5 separate regions of the Homo sapiens genome follow, and regions 1, 2, 3 and 4 are each linked to region 5. Evidence: promoter capture Hi-C in 16 types of primary human blood cells and fetal thymus (Javierre and others, 2016). All regions are on one chromosome and are shown on one strand. The core of a region is centred on a gene start or on the middle of the fragment in contact, and the rest is flanking DNA. Distances in the headings are between cores, read along the strand shown.

Region 1 (2,700 bases), core at 115-2,614, 480 kb after region 5:
TTCCAGGGCTCAGGACCTGTGTCACCCATGAACCCTCTGGAAAACTCTACCTGAAGACATAATATAGCCAAGGAAGAAATGAAAATGGATAGTTTAAGGTATAAAAGTGAATCCTCTTAAATATAAGTCCAATTAGAGGTAATTAGAGTTGCAGAAAAGTACATAATTGTTAAAAGAATTCTTTTTGGAGGCAGAGTCTCGCTGTGTCACCCAGGCTGGAGTGCAGTGGCATGATCTTGGCTCATTGCAACCTCTGCCTCCTGGGTTCAAGCTATCCTCCCACCTCAGCCTTCCGAGTAGCTGGGACTACAGGCACACACCATCACGCCAGGCTAATTTTTGTATTTTTAGTAGACGGGGTTTGCTATGTTGGCCAGGCTGGTCTTGAACTCCTGACCACAGGTGATCCACCCGCCTCAGCCTCCCAAAATGCTGGGATTACAGGCATGAGCCACCGAGCCCAGCACTTCTGTCATACTCTTAAAAACACCAAATTATGACACTTTGGGAAGATCCCCTGGATTAAAGGGGCTCCTAATGGCTTTTGGTTCATTCCCTACCTTTGAACCATTTGCACTAAACCCATCTTAGATGAAGAATTCTGCAGCTTAACTCTTTAAGGCTGTTACATCTTTGCTTTGATTTCCCCTAAACTCCCTAGCCTCTGCTTAGGGAATACAAGGACTTAGATTTCTTAGGAGGGAGCCATTTCTCACCACAAAATCTTATATAGTGAAGGGGGGCATACAGAACTAAAAGGAGGAAATTTTCAGCCTGCTCACTGGAGTCAGTACCTTTTAATCTAGAGGACCCAAGAGCAAGAGTGACCAGAAACAGGGAAAAGGTAAGATCATTTCTTCAAGTATTATATATATCATTACCTGAATTAACCTGGATAAATCACAAATATGATGTTGAAGAGGGGAAAGCAAGTTGCAGAAGGATACACAGAACGGTAACATGTATGTACAATTCTAAAACATTAAAAATATTGTATGTTTAATAAATGTAGTAAAAATACTTAGGAACAAGAAACACCACAGTCCAATAATGGATACCCTGGTGGAAGAAGGAAGGAAATGGGATGAAAGAAAGATGCTTAGCAAGTTGGATTGTTTGTTTCTCAAGCTGTTTGGTGGATACACAGGCGTTCTTTATATTATTCTCTAGGTTTTTTTCTATACTTAAAATATTTCATTAAAAATAATACATGGTTGCCAGATGCAGTGGCTCACACATGTAATCCCAACACTTTGAAGGCTGAGACAGAAGGATCACTTGAGGCCAGGAGTTTGAGACCAGCCTGGGCAACATAGCAAAATTCCATCTCTACCAAAAAGAATTGTTTTAAATTATAAATAATAAAAAATAACTTTTAATAAAAATAACACATGATTCTTTCTCTAGAGAGATACTTGGACCAGCTTAGAAGGGCTTAGGTTAGGAGGCTCCCAGTACCTAGAGAGATTATGGGTGACTCAGCCATAATCTTTCGGCCAAAGTGTTGAGTTGGCCTAGAGCAGACCTTAGTCACATGCCTAGAAAAGCTACACATATCTTCAGTTTCATTCTCTTTTCTTCCCCCAGGGTCATGAGTAGTTTAGAAAGCCTGTCAACTCATCAAAAAAGAAAAGAACCTCCCCATCCTCAGTTACTGAGAAGTTTCATGGCTCTTTGCCGAATATTCTCTAAGTCAATATCTGAAGCAGGAGCCCGTGATACAGTGGAGTGTCACTTTAGGCCTGTGCACATTGCCTAACATCTGTGAGTCTCAATTTTCTCTGTAAAAATTGGAATAAATACCACCATCCCTGCAAGTTTGCTGAAAGGATTCAGTTATAAAATGAGTGTAGGCTGGGTGCAGTGGCTCACGCCTGTAATCCCAACACTTTGGGAGGCTGAGGCGGGTAGATCATGAGGTCAGGCATTCGAGACCAGCCTGGTCAACATAATGAAACCCCATCTCTACTAAAAATACAAAAAATTAGCCGGGCATGATGGCAGATGCCTGTAATTCCAGCTACTTGGGAGGCTGAGGCAGGAGACAGTGAGCCGAGATCGCGCCACTGCACTCCAGTCCGGGCGACAGTGTGAGACTCCATCTCAAAAAATAATAATAATAAATGAGTGTAAAGTGCTTTATATAATGACTGAGATGTATTAGACATTAGATATATGTGAGTTCCCTTTCCTCCCTTGAAATAACTGAAAGAAGTCCTACCTAAAGCCAGAAGAGGAGCAAGAATTTGGAGGCACTCTTGCTTCTCAGTTAGCCTTCTTCCTCAGGTGATATGCCACAACATAGTATAGTGTGGTGTGCCTGGCCAAGCAGTGATCTTACTGTAGTACTCTGTTTTTCTCATGGCCTCCTTTCCACTGAAACGTTACAGTTTTCAGAGTAATTTTGCAAAGCCTGCCTCTGTGCTTGAAATTTGAACCTACCAAGGAGAAATGAGGACCAAGTCTCCATTAGTCTTAGCCATCACTGAGCAGCGTCTTAGAGAACACAGCTAGACATTAGCACAGCGGAGTGCTTCGTGCCAACCTGAGAGTTAAAACTAGGATGCAGAAGCTGTAATTCTAGTCTGGAACAAGCTCTTTTGTTGGACTATAGGAACTCACCTCTTCTCTCTCCTTAGGCACTAAACAGAAAAGACAGAGTCCTTGCTGCCAATTGGCAACCTAGAGAGGGTTTGTTTG
Region 2 (2,700 bases), core at 154-2,653, 500 kb after region 5:
GCCCAGGTGGGCAGATGACCTGAGCCCAGGAGTTTGAGACCAACCTGGGCAACATGGCAAAACCCTGTCTATACAAAATTACAAAAATTAGCTAGGTGTGGTGGTGCACACCTGTAGTCCCAGCCATTTGGGAGGTCGAGGTGGGAGGATCCCTTGAGACTGGGAGCTCAAGGCTGCAGTGTGCTGTGAAGGCACCACTGCACTCCAACCTGGGCAACAGAGGGAGATCCTGCCTCAAAAAAAAAAAAAAAAAGGTGGGTTTTGGGGGTGATTCAAGTTCAGTTTTTGAAGATTATCTGCCAAGACAAAAGGACCAAAACATGTACAAAGGCAGGAACGAGGGAACACTGATGTGAGGGAACTATGGGAGAGAAGGCTTTAGCTAGATCACACAGGGCCCTGTGCTCCAAGTGGGCCTTGTGCTTTGGAGCTATCAGATTTGCATGTTAGAGAAATGACTCTGGTCTCAGTGGAGAGAGTGGACTGAAGAGGGCAAGAATGGAAGCCGGGAAGAGTGAACAGAAGAAATCTTGGGCTTTGATTGGGTCGGAAAGAAAGTGTGGCCCTACCCACTTTGATGCCATCTCTAAGACCTACTGCTACCTGACCCCCGACCTCTGGAAGGAGACTGTATTCACCAAGTCTCCCTATCAGGAATTCACTGACCACCTCGTCAAGACCCACACCAGAGTCTCCGCGCAGAGGATCCAGGCTCCAGCTGTGGCTACAACATAGGGTTTTTATACAAGAAAAATAAAGTGAATTAAGCCTGAAAAAAAAAAAAAAGAAAAGAAAAAGAAATTGTGGCCCTAGGCCGGGCGCGGTGGCTCACGCTTGTCATCCCAACACTTTGGGAGGCTGAGGCGGGCGGATATCCTGAGCTCGGGAGTCTGAGACCAACCGGGGCAACATGGCGAAACCCGTTCTCTACCAAAAATACAAAAAGCCGGGCGTGGTGGTGCATGCCTGTGATCCCAGCTACTCGGGAGGCTGAGGTGGGAGGATGGCTTGAGCCTGGAAGGCGGAGCCTGCAAGCCGAGATGGAGCCACTGCACTCCAGCCTGGGTGACAGAGTGAGACCCCGTCTTAAAAAAAAAAAAAAAAGTGTATCCCTAACAGAGCCCGCAAAGGCCCTTTCTCAGCGTAAGCCTCTGGACTTACACTTGGCCGGCGCTGCGCCTCTCCGGGATCCCCCTCCCTCCTCCTCCCTGGGGCCCCGCGGGCGGGAGGGAGGCGCGGGGTGGCCCAGCCTGGGTGGTCTCCCGCCCCGCCCCCTGCGGCGCCGTTACCTAGCAGCGGGCCGGGCCGCGCGGCTAGGGTAATTTGCGGGCCCCTCAGCCAATGGGAGGGCGTCGCCCCGGCCAGCTCCCTTTTCTGGAGCTCCAGCCGCCTCCCGGGGACTGCAGTTGCCACCTCGAGCCCTGCTGTGCGTCTCGGGCCAGCAATTCCGCCTGCGCGCGGGACCCATTCCTCCTCCAGCCGCCGCGGCCCACGGCCCACGGAGCGGGTGAATCCCGGCGCCGCGCCCCGGACCCGCAGCTCCCTGCACTCCTCCCTCCCAGCCGCTTTAACACCCACACCCCACAGTCTCTCCCACGCCCGCGCCTTGGCGGCCCCACTGAATCCCTACGCGGGGCCCAGCGGTACCGGGAGACCGGGCTAGCCTATGGGAGCGCCCAGATAACGCGGGTTGGGGGCGCCCGCGCCCCCCATCCCCGCCAGCATGACTCGATCGCCGCCCCTCAGAGAGCTGCCCCCGAGTTACACACCCCCAGCTCGAACCGCAGCACCCCAGGTGAGTAGAGGGGGAGCTGGAAGAAGGAAGAGAGCGGAGCCAGGTCTGTCACTCGGGCCTCTGCAAGGTTTGTGATGTCTTGAAGTGCCGAGTGTCATTAGATGTCTGAAGGCAAGTGAGAGCCAGCACCGCAAGCAAGTTGTGCGTGTGTGTCGGTGTGTCTGTGCCGGTGTCTCCTCATCGTCTGGCCAGTGAGAATGAATGTCTGTGGGTTCACCTCTGTGTCCACCCGACGACAGGTGTGTGTACATATGTATCCTGCTCTCAGAAAATGGGCCTATGCCGGCCGGGCGCGGTGACTCACGCCTGTAATCCCAACACTGGGAGGCTGAGGCAGGCAGATTACCTGAGGTCAGGAGTTCGAGACCAGCCAGGCCAACATGGGGAAACTCTGTCTCTACTAAAAATAAAAAATTAGCAGGGCGTGGTGGCGGGCGCCTGTAGTCCCAACTACTCGGGAGGCTGAGGCAGGAGAATCTCTTGAACCTGGGAGGCGGAGGTTGCAGTCAGCCGAGATCACACCACTGCACTCCAGCCAGGGCAACAGAGCGAGACTGCGTCTCAAAAAAAAAAAAAAAAAAAAAAAGGAGAGAAAACAAAAAGAAAAGAAAGGAAAATAGGCCTATGCCTTCCTCAGGTGTGTGCTGGGGATGGTGGGTGTTACATCTTCCAAGTCTGGGCCTGTGTCTGTGTTGGTGCTCCCTGTCCCACATCCAGAAATCAAGAAGCGAGGGCTGGGCAGCAGATATACAGGGTGAGAAGGGAAGGATTTCATGCATTGTTGCAGTGATGCCTGGCTGACCCTTCTCTTTCCATCCCAGATCCTAGCTGGGAGCCTGAAGGCTCCACTCTGGCTTCGTGCTTACTTCCAGGGCCTGCTCTTCTCTCTGGGATGCGGGATCCAG
Region 3 (2,754 bases), core at 219-2,718, 300 kb after region 5:
AGCCTGGCCAACATGGTGAAACCCTGTCTCTACTTAAAATACTAGAAATTATCCGGGTGTGGTGGCACACATCGGTAATCCCAGCTACTCAGGAGGCTGAGGCAGGAGAATTGCTTGGACCTGGGAGGCGGAGGTTGCAGTGAGCGGAGATCACACCACTGTACTCCAGTCTGGGTGACAGAGTGAGACTCCATCTAAAAAAAAAAAAAAGTTACTAGAAAAGTGTGAGTAAATATACATGACACTGGAAAGAGTGATTATTTCTGATTTTTATTTTATATTTCTTTATATGTATTTTCAAATTTTCCGCAATTCTATAATTTTTAATTTTATCTTTAAGAAAAAAAGCACAAAATAAACCATAAAGCTTGTTATAGTTACTCACCTATTTGTAAGTCTTTGGTTTGGTAGTCTTCCATTATCCCTAAGGTAAATTCAAACTCCATAGAATGGCATTCACAGCTGTTTACATTCCAGACTCTACCTTTTCCAGGCTATCTTAGGCCACATAACATAATTCTAACTACATGGAACTATTTGCCATACTCTGAAGATGGATGCTATTAATATATTGAATAATTTTTATGCTTTTACAATATGCCCTTGCTTATGTTTCCTTTGTCAGGAATGTCTTTCCCTGTTTGTCTACCTGTTTGAAATCTTACTTGTCCTTCAAAGCACAGCTCAAATATTATTTTCTCTCTGTATATATTTCTATCATGTTACTTCTTTTTAGCTGCTTTATAATTACATTTATGTATCATTTGTGAGCTCTTTGAGGGCAATGACCATTTCCTATTCATCTTTGTACTTTCTTTGCCCAGCATACTCCCTGGCATTTAATAGGTTTTCAGGAAATGTAGGATTAATTAAATGAATGAGACTTTTCCCATTAGGCAGTTAGTTGCTACCTCCATTGGTTTCCCATAGTATAATATATGTTTGCAAAGAGAAACTACATTTTATTATCCTACTTGTGTGTCCCTTTCTACACCATAGACCACGCTGAGGCTGCAAGGTAGCTCTTTCAAGATATCACCTGTGATTTATTCAACTTTTTATATCCTTAAAGATAAAGACACAGTTCCTGGTATACAGTAGGTGTCAGGTTGAATTTGAGGAACTGGACTGAATACAAACTCTCTTTGTCAGGTATAAATTTTCCTGACTTGAAATTTTAACTAGACCAAAATATCTTCTTCTTACTTGGTAGAGCATGTGCCTACAGCCTGTGCTCGAGTTGACGCCCTGCGTTCCCATGGTTATCCAAAAGAGGCCCTCAGACTCACAGTGGCCATTATTAATACTCTGAGGTTGCAGCAGCAGCGGCAACTGGAAATCTACAAGCATCAGAAGAAAGGTATAGTAATTAGGAGCCATCTAACCCCCTTAGGCCCAAAGCTGATGAGGATCCTCAGGGGATACAAGGCCCAGAAGAACTAGGGAATTCCGGGTCATTCTCCTTGCTGTGTGGAATGCCTCACTTTATCTTTATGAATGTCAGTTTTCTCATCTGTTCATTTGGGAATAATACCTGTTTGCCTCCCTCATAAGGCAGTTAGAAGGCTCATTAAGATCTGGTATGAGAAGACCATTTTTAAACTCTAAAGCTGTGGACAGGCATGGTGATTCACACCTATAATCCCAGCACTTTGGGAGGCCCAGGTAGGAGGATTGCTTGAGGCCAGGAGTTTGAGACCAGCCTGGGCAACATGGTGAGACCCTATCTTTACAAAAATAAAATAAAGGCCAGGCATGGTGGCTTACGCCTGTAATCCCAGCACTTTGGGAGGCCGAGGCAGGCAATCACCTGAGGTCGGGAGTTCGAGACCAGCCTGACCAACATGGAGAAACCCCATCTCTACTAAAAATACAAAAAATTAGCTGGGCGTGGTGGCGCGTGCCTGTAATCCCAGCTACTTGGGAGGCTGAGGCAGAAGAATCGCTGGAACCCAGGAGGCGGAGGTTGCAGTGAGCCGAGATCACACCATTGCACTCCAGCCTGGGCAACAAGAGCAGAGCTCCGTCTTAAAATAAATAATTAATTAAATTAAATTAAATTAAATATGCCAGGCACAGTGGCTCACGCCTGTAATCCCAGGACTTTGGTAGGGTGAATCGGGTGGATCACTTGAGGCCAGGAGTTCAAGACCAGCCTGGCCAACATAGTGAAACCCCAGTTCTATCAAAAATACAAAAATTGTCAGGCATAGTGGCACATGCCTGTAGTCCCAGCTACTCTGGAGGCTGAGGCACGAGAATTGTTTGAACCCAGGAGGCGGAGGTTGCAATGAGCCAAGATCACGCCACTGCACTCTGGCCTGGGCGATAGAGCGAGACTCTGTCTCAAAAATAAATTTTTAAATAAAATTAACAGGGCATGGTGGCATGTGCCTGTAGTCCCAACTATTCAGAAGACTCAGGTATCTCTTAAAACAAAAACCTGTAAAGCTCTATCCACGTATGCACTACCAGCAGGCAACCCAAATGCAGACCACGTGACCTTATAGCTGGCTGGTATGTTTGTGGCCAGCCGTATCAACCCAAGGCAAGACAATAGAGAAGCTTTTATTTGACTCTCAGGGTCAAGGCTGGAGAGACTGATAAGAAGACCCAGGCAGGGACAGACAGCAGTTTGTCTCTATCACTGTCTAAAATTTTAACCTGCTTGTTTCCAGAACTGTTGCAGAGAGGAACCACAACCATCACAAACCTGGAGGGCTGGGTGGGCCACCCCCTGGATCCCATCGACTG
Region 4 (2,700 bases), core at 22-2,521, 320 kb after region 5:
GAAGATAAGATCTCTGGGAGACTGGGCATAGGCCAAGTCTGGCTCTTCCTTTGGGCCCAGAACACAAGTTCTAGGCTAGGGAAAAGGCAAGGATTTCATAAATTGGGCTCCACTTTTAAGTTAAGGCCAGAAGCAAGATAAAGCTTTAGGCTCCCTGGGGTCCCTATCTTCTCTCTACCTCCCCATTTCTACAAGTCAAGCAAGGTATGATAATAAGGACTTTGCTGCAGATCATCAGAGAAGCTTCCTATCTGATTGGTGGGAGGGCTGGGAAAGAAATTAACTGTATTTTATGTTTATCAGCGGAGAGACCACTGTTTAAAGCACCAGAAAATATTTGTCGCATAAATGAATGCAAGGGGAGGGAGAGGTCACAACAGTTAGGCATAGCCCACTGGAAAGGCCTCTTTTGTGCCCAGGTGATGCGGATGACCTTATCAACCCTTAACTGGAGACGCAGGGAGATGGTACGATGGTTGGTGACCTGTGCTACAGAAGTGGGTGAGTCTCCCACCTCCCTCTACCCCCAGGGGAAAGGAGTTTCTAGGCCCTACTCTTGGGACAGGACAATCAATCCTTAGAGCTCTCATATTCCTATGAGATCTTAGGTCCATCAGGAGATGGCCTAAGAAAGGATGGGGCTGCTGGTAGGAGAAGGTGGCCTCTGTTCAGCCAGCCCAAGCCCTGTCTTCACTGCTTGAACCATATCCTGATGTCAGCAGCCCTTGATCCTCTCAACAGAGACATGTCTAAGAGAATGAATTTTCAGTTGCTACTCAAGTGCTCCCTTGGGAGGTAGTGGGCCCAGTGGTTTGGTCCCCATCCCTGTGCATGCTTGTAAAAAACTCCAGACAACTTAGAGGCTCAGGACCCTTTCTAAAGCCCAAAGCCCCAGCACAAGACTCTACCCTGAGAGGCCCCACTTCAGCTAGAACCCCTGGCAGATCTGTAACCCATGCCTCAGGGCAAGCAAACCCCAGGCTCTACTGTCCCATCCTTGTGAGGGGCTAAGAGCACCTGCAGAAACCTTCAACTCTCTGACCTGGGGAAAGAAGGGATAGGAAGAGACCCCAAACAGGGTCTGGCCATCTGGGATGCTCCCCTTGCCCTGGTTTGCCTCATATCATCTCAAGGTTGCTGAGGAGGAAGAATTCATCTCTGCAGGCCAAGTTCAAACCCCAAATGGTAATCTGGGTAGACCTGAATCAGGACCCAGATGGCCACGGCTGAGCTCAGGCTCCCCCTGACAGGTGTGCGGGCCCTGGTGAGCATCTTGCAGAGCTGGTACACACTCTTCACCCCTACTGAGGCTACTAGTATTGTAGCTGCCACAGCCGTATCCCACACCACTATCCTGCGCCTCAGTCTTGACTATCCACAGCGGGAGGAACTGGCTAGCTGTGCTCGCACACTGGCTCTACAGTGTGCTATGAAGGATCCACAGAGCTGTGCCCTGTCAGCCCTTACACTCTGTGAGAAAGACCACATTGCCTTTGAGGCAGCCTACCAGATTGCCATTGATGCTGCTGCTGGTGGTATGACCCATTCACAGCTGTTCACCATCGCCCGCTACATGGAGCTCCGTGGCTACCCGCTACGTGCCTTCAAGCTGGCCTCATTGGCCATGAGCCATCTTAACCTGGCCTACAACCAGGATACTCACCCAGCCATCAATGATGTGCTCTGGGCTTGTGCTCTCAGCCACTCTCTGGGCAAGAATGAGCTGGCAGCTCTCATCCCCCTGGTGGTGAAGAGTGTGCACTGTGCCACAGTGCTTTCAGACATCTTACGACGCTGCACAGTGACTGCACCTGGCCTGGCCGGCATCCCAGGCCGCCGAAGCTCTGGAAAGCTCATGTCCACTGACAAAGCTCCATTGCGCCAGTTGCTGGATGCCACCATCAATGCCTATATCAACACTACACACTCACGCCTAACACACATCAGCCCTCGCCACTATGGAGAGTTCATTGAGTTTCTAAGCAAGGCTCGGGAGACCTTCCTGCTGCCCCAGGATGGCCACCTGCAGTTTGCCCAGTTCATCGACAACCTCAAACAGATCTACAAAGGCAAGAAAAAGTTGATGCTGCTGGTGCGAGAGCGCTTTGGCTGAGAGAGCAGATAGCTCACTGCCAGAGCAGCCTGGGTTCCCAGGTAGTATCAGGTCAGGCCAAGGGCACTGAAACATTTGTCCACCCTGAGAGAACTCTGAGCACCTGTGGATGAGGCCAAAGGACCACAGGGCTAAGGATGGGGAAAGTCCAGCTCTAGTCGATAATGCCTACCTTGGCAAGCTTCTGACTACAGCCTACTGTTCATGGAGGAGCTGGGCCCTGCAGATCGACCAGAAACCCCACAACATGCCACCTCATGCCCCTATATCCTGCGTGTCCTGAGCATTGGCCCTGTCTCCCTTGGCAAACACAGAACACTGTTCCATCTCAGGGATTGCTTAACCAGAGAAACAGACACATTTGTGGGACTGTAAATACTATATGTGTTGCTAATTATTGTAAACTTGTAACTATTTATAATTCTGCTTCTGATTTGATGGGCACTTGAAGTAGCTGTGGGTAGGAGGATATGCTTATTTTCTGAGGAGACTCACAACCATTTCTCAGGTTTCCCTTGCAGAGTGTTTGCTGGTAGCAGTGGAAGAGTGGGGGTGCCAAGGAGAAAAATGGCCAGTTAGGATCAACC
Region 5 (2,700 bases), core at 127-2,626:
ACTGGTTCAGCAAACTCTTCCTGTCCCCAAGCCCACTCAGCTCCTGTGGGTAGGTAAAGGGAGAGTTGTGACAGGCCTCTAGCACCAGCCCCTTCACAACCACCTGCCCTCCTTGTTTCCCAACTCTCACCGTGTCCACAGCCACGAAATTAGCTGTCTTTATGGCTAGCAGGAGGGATGGCCACATCTCCTTGAAGTTGTTGCTTTGCACATCCACTACGGGAACCTGGACTACTAGCTCCTCCCCAGATGTTGTGCTTTTGCTGACACCACCTGGGGGTTAGGAGGGTGATGGATGTTCATGCTTAAGGAAAGAGCCCAGGGGAACAGACACCAAGCTAGGCCACGGTGATGGTGGTAAGGGGGGTAGTTTCCATTGGTAGCTTTTCCCACAAGCCTTTGTAACCCACGTGTTCTACACACAGGCCTTGGAGTGGAGAATGCCCTGAATTTGGGGAGAGGAAGCCTGAGTCTTCTACTGGCTTGTATGAGCCTGGGTAAATTACTTCCCACCTCGCTTTCACAATCTGTAGAGGAGAAAGTTGGACTAGACGACCTTTGATTCTTTTTTCCCATGTCCTGCAGGAAACATTTTGTAGGGCTTGAGGATCTCAGCTCCCTTAATATCCCACAGGGATCCATACTACTGTTCTCATGGTGCCCCAGCGCCACAAGCAACAGCTCCCAGTAAGCCCCAGAGCCTGGCAGTGCCCCACACCAGAGCTCCCAATACGTCCTACCTTCCTTTGGATCACAACGCTCAATCCACTCCACTGAACTGAATCACAACTATTACTACTAACCGTTATGAGCTCCAGACTACATCTCCCGCCATGCCTCCATCAGCCCCATGCTCCCAACGCTCCAGGCTTTTGCAGCCGGAGCCGCGGTGTACAACGGAACTTGTAGTCTCCTCGTGGCTAGTTCAGGCGGAAGGAGCAGTCCTCTGAAGCTTGAGGAGCCTCTAGAACTATGAGCCCGAGGCCTTCCCCTCTCCCAGAGCGCAGAGGCTTTGAAGGCTACCTCTGGGAAGCCGCTCACCGTCGGAAGCTGCGGGAGCTGAAACTGCGCCATCGTCACTGTCGGCGGCCATGACACCGCTCGTCTCCCGCCTGAGTCGTCTGTGGGTACGCTGGACTTGCGGTCCGTCTCCTGGCGCGGTTCAGGCAGTCGGGGATGGGGCGGGGTCTCGCCGTCGGGTCGCCGATGGGTCGAACTTCCGTTCAGACGTCCCGGGTCCGGCGCGGGGAAGGCAGCCTGGCGCGCGCTAATTGCCTATTGGCCTGTGCTGCCGGCTCGCAGCCCGGGTGGACCCGAGCCACGCCCCCTGGAGTGCGCCGGAAAGCCGGGCGCGCTAGAGCTCGCGGGAGGTAATCTTTCTCTCCTGCTCTCGCGGCGGGAACGCGGGGCCTCCGTGTTCTGCTGTCTTCATCAGCGTGGGCCGCGGGTAGCGGGTAGTGGGGTGGCTGGGTTTGGGCTTTCCAGAGAAGGTGACGCTGCCTGAGCTGAGCTTAAAGCACGCCCAGGAGTTAGACTAGGAGAGGGTCGTGTGGGGGAAAGAAGGGCGTTCTGGGCATCGGTAAATTCCCAGAGAGGATGGAGAGCTCAGTGATCTCCAGAAAGTGAAAGAGGCGGGGAGTGGGCCATCGGAGGAGGCTGCCCAGGGTGTAAGAGCGACCGATTGGTAGGGAAGCTTTTGTAATAATCCAATCAAGTGATAATGTGAACTTGAATTAAGGCTGGCAGTATGGATGGCGAGGAAGGGACAAATTGTGAAGCAGCTAGGCGGTATAGTCGACCTAGAGGGTGATTGAATTTGAAAGAGGTTCCTAGGCCGGGCGCGGTGGCTCACGCCTGTAATCCCAGCACTTTGGGAGGCCGAGGCGGGCGGATTACCTGAGGTCCGGAGTTCAAAACCAGCCTGGCCAACATGGTGAAACCCCGTCTCTACTAAAAGTACAAAAAAAATTAGCTGGGTATGGTGCGGGCGCCTGTAATCCCACTACTTGGGAGGCTGAGGCAGGAGAATCGCTTGAACCTGGGAGGCAGAGGTTGCGGTGAGCCGAGATCACGCCATTTTGCACTTCAGCCTAGGCAACAAGAGCGAAACTCCGTCTCAAAAAAAAAAAAAAAAAAAAAATTCCTATTGGAGACTAGTCCCTCCGTAAACACTACGATTCCCATCCACCTCTGCCTTCCAGTGCTCCTTTGTTACTCATTGTTTATAGTTAATCTTCAGCTTCTCTCAACTGAGCCCATTTCATCATTATTCAGAACTGCTTGGGCCGGGCGCAGTGGCTTATGGCCTGTAATCATCTTAGGAGGCCAAGGTGGGAGGATCGCTTGACCCTAGGAGTTCAAGACTAGCCTGGGCAACATAGTGAAACCTTGTCTCTACAAAAAGAAAATTAAAAATTAGTTGGGCATGGTGGTGCGCACCTGTAGTCCCAGCTACAGGAGGCTGAGGTGAGAGGATGGCTTGAGCCCAGGAGGTCGAGGCTGCAGTGAGCCATGTTCTTATTGCACTCCAGCCTGAGTGGCAGAGCAGCAAAGTGAGGGACACACTGTCTCTAAAAACAAAACAAACAAACAAAAAAAAAACAAAAATAAAAAAACTCTTTGGATTTCTCCTATCCTAAAAAAGGGAAACTCTTTTGACTATCCCCCATCCCATTAATTCATTTAACAGGTATCTATTGT

The links. The method cuts DNA at HindIII sites, captures the fragments that hold promoters and counts their contacts. A CHiCAGO score of 5 or more calls a contact.
Region 1: a fragment that was not itself captured here is called in contact with the fragment with the promoter of MUTYH in region 5 in 2 of 17 cell types (endothelial precursors and M1 macrophages); the score reaches 6.6 in endothelial precursors.
Region 2: the fragment with the promoter of PTCH2 here is called in contact with the fragment with the promoter of MUTYH in region 5 in 8 of 17 cell types (endothelial precursors, M1 macrophages, total B cells and 5 more); the score reaches 10.5 in endothelial precursors.
Region 3: a fragment that was not itself captured here is called in contact with the fragment with the promoter of MUTYH in region 5 in 1 of 17 cell types (erythroblasts); the score reaches 5.8 in erythroblasts.
Region 4: a fragment that was not itself captured here is called in contact with the fragment with the promoter of MUTYH in region 5 in 16 of 17 cell types (naive CD4 T cells, naive B cells, M1 macrophages and 13 more); the score reaches 14.9 in naive CD4 T cells.

What each region holds. Positions count from the first base shown.
Region 1 is chr1:44,862,049-44,864,748 of GRCh38, reverse strand. The region is part of intron 10 of EIF2B3 (eukaryotic translation initiation factor 2B subunit gamma); the gene reads left to right. Among named protein-coding and RNA genes, the nearest start is that of PTCH2, 20 kb to the right of the region's middle. The HindIII fragment of the contact is 4,199 bases long and covers 1-2,700 here.
Region 2 is chr1:44,841,956-44,844,655 of GRCh38, reverse strand. PTCH2 (patched 2) reads left to right here and starts at 1,403. Exons shown (of 22, transcript NM_003738.5): 1 at 1,403-1,795; 2 at 2,617-2,700. The coding sequence starts at 1,724. RefSeq lists a silencer at 1,188-1,457. The HindIII fragment of the contact is 9,661 bases long and covers 1-2,700 here.
Region 3 is chr1:45,038,998-45,041,751 of GRCh38, reverse strand. It overlaps ZSWIM5 (zinc finger SWIM-type containing 5), which reads left to right. Exons shown (of 14, transcript NM_020883.2): 7 at 1,214-1,360; 8 at 2,679-2,754. Among named protein-coding and RNA genes, the nearest start is that of UROD, 28 kb to the right of the region's middle. The HindIII fragment of the contact is 2,198 bases long and covers 370-2,567 here.
Region 4 is chr1:45,017,867-45,020,566 of GRCh38, reverse strand. It overlaps ZSWIM5 (zinc finger SWIM-type containing 5), which reads left to right. Exons shown (of 14, transcript NM_020883.2): 13 at 420-501; 14 at 1,251-2,700. The coding sequence ends at 2,113. Among named protein-coding and RNA genes, the nearest start is that of UROD, 7.0 kb to the right of the region's middle. The HindIII fragment of the contact is 2,051 bases long and covers 246-2,296 here.
Region 5 is chr1:45,338,646-45,341,345 of GRCh38, reverse strand. MUTYH (mutY DNA glycosylase) reads left to right here and starts at 1,376. Exons shown (of 16, transcript NM_001048174.2): 1 at 1,376-1,447. TOE1 (target of EGR1, exonuclease) reads right to left here and starts at 1,176. Exons shown (of 8, transcript NM_025077.4): 1 at 1,042-1,176; 2 at 131-273; 3 at 3-43. The coding sequence starts at 1,093. RefSeq lists enhancers at 1-517, 816-1,165, 518-1,186, 1,187-1,854. The HindIII fragment of the contact is 741 bases long and covers 955-1,695 here.